Linked DNA regions of Homo sapiens: all the other regions are linked to region 3. Evidence: promoter capture Hi-C in human tissues and cell types (Jung and others, 2019). All regions are on one chromosome and are shown on one strand. Each heading gives the region's core, a stretch centred on a gene start or on the middle of the fragment in contact. The rest is flanking DNA. Distances are from core to core; before and after follow the strand shown.

Evidence for each region. Contacts are between HindIII fragments. The study calls those that stand out against the background at their distance.
Region 1: a contact is called between the fragment with the promoter of AIRE here and the fragment with the promoter of UBE2G2 in region 3, in 3 of the 25 tissues and cell types used here (IMR-90 fibroblasts, hippocampus and mesendoderm cells).
Region 2: a contact is called between the fragment with the promoter of AGPAT3 here and the fragment with the promoter of UBE2G2 in region 3, in 3 of the 25 tissues and cell types used here (dorsolateral prefrontal cortex, liver and lymphoblastoid cells).

What each region holds. Positions count from the first base shown.
Region 1 is chr21:44,284,503-44,287,329 of GRCh38, forward strand. It overlaps AIRE (autoimmune regulator), which reads left to right and starts at 1,374. Exons shown (of 14, transcript NM_000383.4): 1 at 1,374-1,636; 2 at 2,055-2,229; 3 at 2,476-2,631. The coding sequence starts at 1,505. RefSeq lists enhancers at 1-251, 252-853. The HindIII fragment of the contact is 44,459 bases long and covers 1-2,827 here.
Region 2 is chr21:43,863,924-43,866,882 of GRCh38, forward strand. It overlaps AGPAT3 (1-acylglycerol-3-phosphate O-acyltransferase 3), which reads left to right and starts at 1,300. Exons shown (of 10, transcript NM_020132.5): 1 at 1,300-1,422. RefSeq lists silencers at 359-718, 1,269-1,618, 1,739-2,058. The HindIII fragment of the contact is 11,781 bases long and covers 1-2,959 here.
Region 3 is chr21:44,800,559-44,803,378 of GRCh38, forward strand. It overlaps UBE2G2 (ubiquitin conjugating enzyme E2 G2), which reads right to left and starts at 1,262. Exons shown (of 6, transcript NM_003343.6): 1 at 1,148-1,262. The coding sequence starts at 1,190. LINC01424 (long intergenic non-protein coding RNA 1424) reads left to right here and starts at 1,683. Exons shown (of 2, transcript NR_109928.1): 1 at 1,683-2,078. RefSeq lists an enhancer at 488-1,443 and silencers at 991-1,050, 1,111-1,330, 1,831-1,880. The HindIII fragment of the contact is 9,913 bases long and covers 1-2,820 here.

The DNA.
Region 1 (2,827 bases), core at 124-2,623, 520 kb before region 3:
GGGGGACCCTGGGCCTGAAGGCGGTAGGAGAAACCGAGACCGACCCCTGGTCTAGAGGAGAGGTGTCTGCCGCTCTCCATCCTGGACTCTGGCTGCCCAAAAGCAAACGGCACGCCTGCCCACGTGGGAATCTTGGTGGCGTCTCTCACTGCATCAGTTAGCCCCCAGCCCAGTGCTGCCTGGATTCAGGCTTCCTGGTACCTTCGTCCACCCTTCAGCCCTAATCCATGCTGGCCAGGTCATCTCGTTCTCTGGCTCAGTGGGAACACTCGTGCCCAGAGACCTCTCGTGGTTCTCTGCAGCCTGCACACAGGGCCTGCTTCCCTGGCTTGACCGCACAGACAAGGGGACTGTTACCAAGGCCTCCCACTGAGGCCACCCCCCCTCCAGGCCATGCCTGCGGGGCCACCACAGCCTCAGCATCATTGCAGGCCCCAGGCCTCTGCACCTGGTCTTGTTTTACTGGGGGCACTGTCCCCACTCACGTCCACCTGGGACCCTCGGCTCCTGTCCACTGCAGCTCCCCTCCCGGACACCTTCCCAGATGCCCCCGGAAGCTCCTGTCCAGGCCACAGCATCCCTCAGCCTCTGTCACTGGTCCTAGGAAGACCCTTTGGGAGCTCTCACTCAGGGCCACACTCAGGACCCCCGTTGTGGGGCTGGCCGCCTTCCTTCTAAAGCACCTGGAGGAAGGAAGGAGGGGGTCAATGCGAGCCTCAATCCCCAGGCGAGTGTGCCCCTTTTAAAGATGAGGGAACCGAGGCTCAGAGAAGGAAAGGACTTGCCTGGCGTCACACAGCTAGCCTAAGATGGTGAGGTCAGGAGCTCCCTGGCAACACCCAGGCTGCCGTACCGTCTCCTGCATCAGACTGAGCCTCCATCGGGCTCCTCCCACAGCCCCAGGCGGGCCCCTGAGTAGGGGCTCTCAGCTTGTGTGGAGGTCCCCCAGGAACACCACCCCGATCCAGCCTCCATGGAGGCTCTTGCCGGCCACTGGGAGGGGCCGGTGCACCCTGGGCAGCCCCTGCCAGGGCCCTGAGACCCGAGCCTCCCCGCCGAGGGCACCTGTCTCGGCTTTGCCCCATTCGAGCAGGGCCCTCGCCGAGGCAGGACAGGGCCACATTCGGAAGTGAGAGTTCTCTGAGTCCCGCACAGAGCGAGTCTCTGTCCCCAGCCCCCAAGGCAGCTGCCCTGGTGGGTGAGTCAGGCCAGGCCCGGAGACTTCCCGAGAGCGAGGGAGGGACAGCAGCGCCTCCATCACAGGGAAGTGTCCCTGCGGGAGGCCCTGGCCCTGATTGGGCGCCGGGGCGGAGCGGCCTTTGCTCTTTGCGTGGTCGCGGGGGTATAACAGCGGCGCGCGTGGCTCGCAGACCGGGGAGACGGGCGGGCGCACAGCCGGCGCGGAGGCCCCACAGCCCCGCCGGGACCCGAGGCCAAGCGAGGGGCTGCCAGTGTCCCGGGACCCACCGCGTCCGCCCCAGCCCCGGGTCCCCGCGCCCACCCCATGGCGACGGACGCGGCGCTACGCCGGCTTCTGAGGCTGCACCGCACGGAGATCGCGGTGGCCGTGGACAGCGCCTTCCCACTGCTGCACGCGCTGGCTGACCACGACGTGGTCCCCGAGGACAAGTTTCAGGTGGGCTCCCCGCCCGCCCCCCGCTGCCCCCAGGCCCTGTGAGCCAGGGATAGTCCCCGGGGAAGTTCCAGGAGGACCCCGCCCCTCCAGATCCCCAAGCCCCTCCAGCCTTCCCCAACTCCCTCCCCACAAGGAGCCAGGGGCGTCCCTGATGACAAGTTAGAAGTTGGTCCCCTTCCCCCAGCCGTCCCCACACCTCACCCCCAAGCCAAGGGAATGGCCTCCAGGTTCCCCCAGCCCCACCCTCAACACCCCTACACCACCACCTGACTCCACCACAAGCCGAGGAGATGGGCGTGGAGCTGTCCAGGTCGCCAGCGCCTCTGCCTGGGAGCTCCACCCTCTAGTCATGATGGAGATGGGCAGGCCGCAGGGTGTGGGGGACCATGGCAGGGACCCTCATGCCACCCCACTGCAGGAGACGCTTCATCTGAAGGAAAAGGAGGGCTGCCCCCAGGCCTTCCACGCCCTCCTGTCCTGGCTGCTGACCCAGGACTCCACAGCCATCCTGGACTTCTGGAGGGTGCTGTTCAAGGACTACAACCTGGAGCGCTATGGCCGGCTGCAGCCCATCCTGGACAGCTTCCCCAAAGGTGGGTCCTGGTGGACTCAGCCATGCTGGGGGCCTGGGGCAGCTGCTGTCACCTGCTCAGCCCAGCTGGACTGGAACCGGAGTGGTGTTTGAGGAGCCCGTGGGTGATGTTCCAGGACCGTCTTGGATCCTAAGAGGCAAAGGGGCCAGGCCTCACCTGTCTGGCCAAGGTGTCCAGTTCTGGGGCCCACCCTACCCCTGGAGAAAACCCTGAGGTTGGGACCCTGCTCCTGCCCCTGAGCTGCAGATGTGGACCTCAGCCAGCCCCGGAAGGGGAGGAAGCCCCCGGCCGTCCCCAAGGCTTTGGTACCGCCACCCAGACTCCCCACCAAGAGGAAGGCCTCAGAAGAGGCTCGAGCTGCCGCGCCAGCAGCCCTGACTCCAAGGGGCACCGCCAGCCCAGGTACCCTCCCTGCAGGGGAAGCCAGCCAGGGTCTCCAGTCTTCCCGGGCTTCCCCGGGAGCCCACGCCCCCTCCCCACCCGGGCTCCCACCCACTGGGTGTGGGGCCAGCCTGCCTGGGGCTGTGGGGGTCTCCTCTGGGTACTAGACCCACACACTGGACCAGCCTCTCAGCTCCCTCCTGCCTGAAGGCTGAGC
Region 2 (2,959 bases), core at 50-2,549, 940 kb before region 3:
CCGTGAGGCCCCATTTCTACAAAAAAAATTTTTTTTAAATTAGCCAGACATGGTGGTGTGTGCCTGTGGTCCCAGCTACTTGGGAGGCTGAGGTGGGAGGATCACTTGAGCCCTGGAGTTCAAGGCTTCAGCGAGCTATGATTGTACCACTGCACTCCAGGGTGGGCGACAGAGCAAGACCCTGTCTCAATAATAATAAAAATAAAAAAAAAAAAAAGGAAAAAAAGGGGCACAGTAGACAGTACCAGTACTTGGTATTTTAAATGGTTTTCAAATGAAGCCCACCCAAGCTCAGCAAGTCCAGCCGGGGCCTGAGGACCTGAGCAGGCGCCAGGTCACACAAGGTACCGGGCGCAGGAGGCGGAGCCCGCAGCGGGCCCTGCCCTGACAGCGGCACCTGCGCGGCCTCCGCAGGTTCTGGGATCGGCCGCTGGCCAGGTGCAAGGGAGGGGGGACGGCAGCCGCTGTCCTGGGGCTGAGAGGGCTCCGCGGTCTGGAGGGGACGGCGTCAGCGCCCGCGGGGGTTCGCAGGGCAGCCCCGGGGCGACCCCCACCCCCGCCACGGTCAAGTGTCGATACAGTGTTGCCAGCCGGGTGCCAACTATGAATAAGTCCAAGGGCGCGGCACGTGGGCCGAAACGCGATCCTTCCGCGGAGCCGCTGCGCGCAGGGCCGTCCCCACCGAGCCCGCCGCGCGGCGACCCCTGACGGCGACCCTAAGCCCCGGCCGACCAGGGCAGGAGCTCGCGCGCGAAACTTCCCCGGCGCCCGCAGGAGACCCCGGCAGGGGAGATGGCGGGGCCCAGGCAGAGCTCGGAGGCCCCTCCCGGCCCCACCCCGCGCCCCGGCCCCCTCTGCCCCCGACCCGGTCCGGGGGAGCCCTCGCGGGACCCCAGCCTGGTCCTTCGCCGCCTCCCCCCGTTCAGCCCCGACCCCCCTGATCCCCGCGCCCCCCGCGGTCCCGGCCCGCCCCCTCCCCCAGCCCGGGCCCCAGCCCCGTCCGTTAGCGGATCCCACGCAGGCTCCGCGCCCGGCCCCGCCGGCGCCCTCGGCCCACACCTCTCTCCGCGCGCGTGTCCCGCCGTGTCGCCCCCGTGTCCCCTCCGCGTCCCCCCCCGCGCCGTCCCCCCGCGTCCCCCCCCGCGTCCTTCCCCCGTGTCCCCCCAGCGTGTCCCTCGGCCGCCCCGCGCGCGCCGGCGGAACTGTGGGATCGCCGCGCACAGGAAGTGGCGGCGGCGGCGCGGCCGAGGGCGGAGGGCGGAGGGCGGCGGGATGGGGGCCGGGGGCGGCGGGCGCCGCACTCGCTGAGGCCCCGACGCAGGGCCGGGCCGGGCCCAGGGCCGAGGAGCGCGGCGGCCAGAGCGGGGCCGCGGAGGCGACGCCGGGGACGCCCGCGCGACGAGCAGGTGGCGGCGGCTGCAGGTGAGCACCGAGGCCCCCACCCGAGGTCGGGCCGCCCCCCTCTTCCCCCACGCCCCGCCGCCGCCCGAGGTCGCCCTCCCGCCGCCGGAGGTCGCCCCTGCCCCAGCCGTCCGACCTCGGGCCGCCCGGGGCCCCGCGCCGCAATGGGCCGGCCGCGCTCCGCGGGGCGCGGGGCCTGGGAAGGCGCGGGGCCGGGAGGAGGTCTGGGCCCGGGTCCTGTGCGCCCCCCGCAACCCCGGCCTCCCCGGCGGCCTGGTCCAGCGCGAGGCCCCGGCCGCTTCCCGCAGCAGCCTCGGTGGCGCTGGGCCCAGCGGGGAGGCCCGGGGGTTCGGGGCGCCCGGGAGGGGCCCGGGCCGGGCCGAGGGAGGGCGAGTGGGTTCCCGCGGGGACGTCCCATCCCTCCGTCCTGGACTCTGCTCCGGGCCCCGCTCGGCTCCCCCGTGGACAGGACGCGCCCGCCGCCTGGTTTCGGGGCGCGGCGGACCCGGGACCCCCCCCAGGGGCCTCCTCCTCGCGCGCCCAGGCCAAGGGAGCAGTTTCACTTTTGCCGCTCCGCGCGGGGAGGGCTGCGGGGCCCGGGGTTGGCTGTGGGTTCGGCCCGGAGACCGGCGGCGCGTTTGCACCGGGCGGGTCAGGGGATGGGGTCAGTCCGGGGGCAAGAGCCGTGGGGGCGAAAACCCACTCCTGGCCACCCCAGGACCCTTGGAACATTGGTCCCAAGTACTTAGGAAAGGAGGGTTATTAGTATTTGAAGGCAGTTAAAAATGGTGCAGTGTTTTTTTTTTTTTTTTTAACTTTGAGAGAAGTTTAGTGACATGGGGAAAATGCTTTTATAAATGGCTTCCCAGACCTTTAAAAAAAAAAAAGCACAATTTTAAAAGCTTTGTCTAGGAGAATACTTGAGCAGTTGGGTTCTTTTTCCTGGGAAACATGATCTTAGTAGAAGAAAGATGTGGGCTGTTGGCCTCCAGACAGAGGGTGATGAGCATGCGGCTCTTATTAAAAATGAAAGCCAACGCCGAGAGCCTGCTGGGGGCTGGGAGGTGGGGCGGGCGGCGGGCCCAGGCTGCTAGAGGGACCCAGGATCCTGCAGCTTTTAAATTGCAGGCGCGGCTGCTCCGACTCGACTCGCTTAGGAATTGCTGAACTTCGTCTTCTCAGTTTGAAAGCTTCAGAGGGGTCTCCCGAGGATGCTGAGCACTCTCTTGATTTGGCCACTTCTTTGCCGCCCCCCCTCCCTCTTTCCAACCAATCCTCCTCCCCCACAGAGTTCGGCGTTAGCCTGTGCCTGTTACAACTCGCTTCTTGTATCCATTTCTGGTTAGTCTTAAGTATCTTCTTGAGGACATTGTCTAAAAAGCAGCTGCATGCCATTGACATTCAGACAGAACAGGGCCCCTTGGCCTTAGAAGGTGTAGGGGCCTTAAATATTCTGAAGGTGACTTCATGGAGTGGCCGCCCTCTGTGGTCACCCTACCTGTGCGTGGCCCTGTCCTGGCGTATCTGCCAGGGGGACGCGCTGCAGCAGCCTGAAGAC
Region 3 (2,820 bases), core at 12-2,511:
CTTGAGCATCCGAGGATTCTGGTATCTGCAGCGGGGCCTGGAACCAATCCCCTCCAGATACCAAGGGAAGAATGACCATACGTGAGTGAGCCTGTATTTGCAACGTTTTGGTCTGCTTAAGCCAAACATCAACTCTTACTGGGCGGTGTCACCAATAGTTTTACGAAATCAAGCTACATGTATATTCACCACTTATTTTTTTTCTCACATTCATTCTTTTAGCTTAACTTTCTTCCAAAATTATCCTCAATCTAATTACAAAAGCAGCAGCTAACTTTATTAAGGGTTACACATCAGGTATTTTGCTAAGCACTTCACCTGCAGTATCAAGTTTAACCTTTTAAGACAAGGAAACTGCAGAGACAGAGAGAGGAACAAGGTCAAAGAGCTAACAAGCAGAGAGGCCGGGTCTGAACTCAGGCCCTGCTCTTAGCCGGCTACTATCTCGTCTCCATCGGCGACTCAGGCTCCTGGCGCTTTCAACACAATGGTATTCCAAGACTTCTCGCAGCAGTTCTTCCAAGCGGGCATTCGGTGTAAAACGATGGAATGCCGAGTGTTCCTAGGTTCTCATTTCTCCCTTCGCTCTCCTCAGACATTAGAAATATCTAATTTACCGGGTAGGAAAGCACTCAAGAGGTTTCCTCAACACTACCTAGGAGGAGTGACAGGTGGCACTGTTCAAAAACCCTTTTCCTTCATTAGAGGGAAAGCCAAAATCTGACCTTTCAAAGCTCCACCAACGAGCCTTTCCCCTTTTAACGCATACACTTTTCCCTCCTAATTCCGCAGCAGCAAGTCAGGCCTTCTTCCTCAAGCTCTCACTGCACGTTCTCAAGGCTGCCAAGAAAAGAAAAAATAGAAGAGAAAAAAACAAGCCCGCAAAGACTCAACTGTGTGTGCTCTCAACTAACACGGCGCCGGCGCTGCCTTTACTGATGCTGGGAAGGCTTCTCTTCACGACTTCACGCGTGAGAGTGGGCAGCGGGCGCAGGGCGCGGCACTCCGCGGGACCCACAGGGGGGCTCACGGTGGAGGCCCCGGGCCCGGCTCCCCCGCCAGGCTCCCTGCCCCAGCCCCGCCGGACGACGCGGGCCCGGGAGCAGGAACGCGGGACGCTGCTGACGGCCCGGGTCCCCAGACTCACGTTTGTACTCGGCCATCAGCCTCTTGAGCGCGGTCCCCGCCATGGCCCCGCAACAGCTGCGCCGAGCGACCTCGCCTCAGCCGCGCGCGTGCCTCCTGCCCCGACACCGGGGACTGCTTCCGGGCCACCGTCGCGGGCCCAGGAACTCTTCCGGGGCGTGGCGCGTGCGCGATCGCCGAGGCGCGCTGTCCGGGTGGTGGGAGCTCAACCCGCGACCGCGGCTACGATTCTCTTGGCTCCTGCCCTCGCCTTAGTCGCTCTGCGGGGTTGGTTCGGTCCCGGCACTTCCAGAGGCCTCAGGGTCCTGGTCTTGTAGAGACTTCCTGAACGGTGGCGCCTGTTCCAGTGTGTGTGCGCTAACTGCCTGTTCTGTGCCAGCCGCGCGTGGCCGAAGGGCGGGAGGACGGGGGTTGTGGAGGGGAGGATGGAGGTTGGGGAGACAGGGCGGGGACGAGATAAGAGGTCGGGGGGTGGGGAGGATGGTCGCGGGGCGGTCTGGGGCTGGAGACAAGGGGCCTGAGGTGCGGGTACGCACTGAACATTCCAACCGTCCCCAGCCGGCCGGGTTTCAGGTTTGAAAAGGTGGGAAGGTTAGCTGTCCTGGCGCTTTTCCTCCACGTGTTGTGCGGCTCCGCTGGAGTTCGGGTCCAGCACCTTCTACTCCGAGGGAGAGAGCCGCGGGGAGAGCCCTGTTCGGGCCCGCGGCTCGAACTGACCGCCGGCTCTGCCGAGCAGCCTCGACCCCAGGGCACCCCCGGGAGAGAGGGCGCGGCTCAGGTCCCTGCCCGAACCCCTGGGGTGCTGAGAGACTCCCCAGCGCCCCGCGTGGGCTCCCGGCCTCTCCACAGTTGAGGATCCTGTAAGGGGCGAGCCCTTTTTCCCATAATGGCTGTAGTGAGTGGGTGTGCTTTCCCGATTGACCCGCTGTGAGGTGAGCGATTTTAACCCACATCCTTACTGACTTCACAGCACAGTAGGTGCTTCGTGGCTGTCCGGTGCAAGGATGTATATACACACACACCTTTGCAAAAAAAGTTTGCATCTCTTGCCTGGCTGTTTGTTGCAATAATCTATCATTTGTCTTTTCCTTTCCAGCATTGCAGATGATCCCTTGAAAAGAAGTCTGATCACATTCACACTCTGCTCCGCCCATTTCACTCAGTAAAGCTGAAGTCCTGCAGTGCTTTGCTCTGCCTCCGGTCACCCCGCCATACTCCCAGACCCTCCCTCCCTCTCACTCCACTCCAGCTGCCCTGGCCTGGTTCAGAGTCCCTGACTCTTCCCTCCCCGGAAACACTTTCTGGCGGCTCTTGTCCCCGACTCTTCCCACCTGCTCTTTCAGTCTTTGCTCAAATGTTGCCTCTTCAGTGTGGCCTAGGCCGTCACCACCCGGCCTTCACCGCATACCTTTTTCTCTGCAACACCTACTCAACACACCGTACTATAGAACTTACTGGCATGCTATAAATGTATTACCCTTATCTGTTGCCTCTAACCAAAAGCGTGTTCCATGAGAGCCATGGGTCCCTGCCTACTTCTGTCTTGTTTCTGGGGCAGCCTCTGTACCTGGACATCGTATACTCTTAACACGGATTTGTCAAATCAAATGAAATTTAACAATACAAACTTCACAAGTATGCATAGTGTAGGAAAATTCCCCAAAATTCAAAATT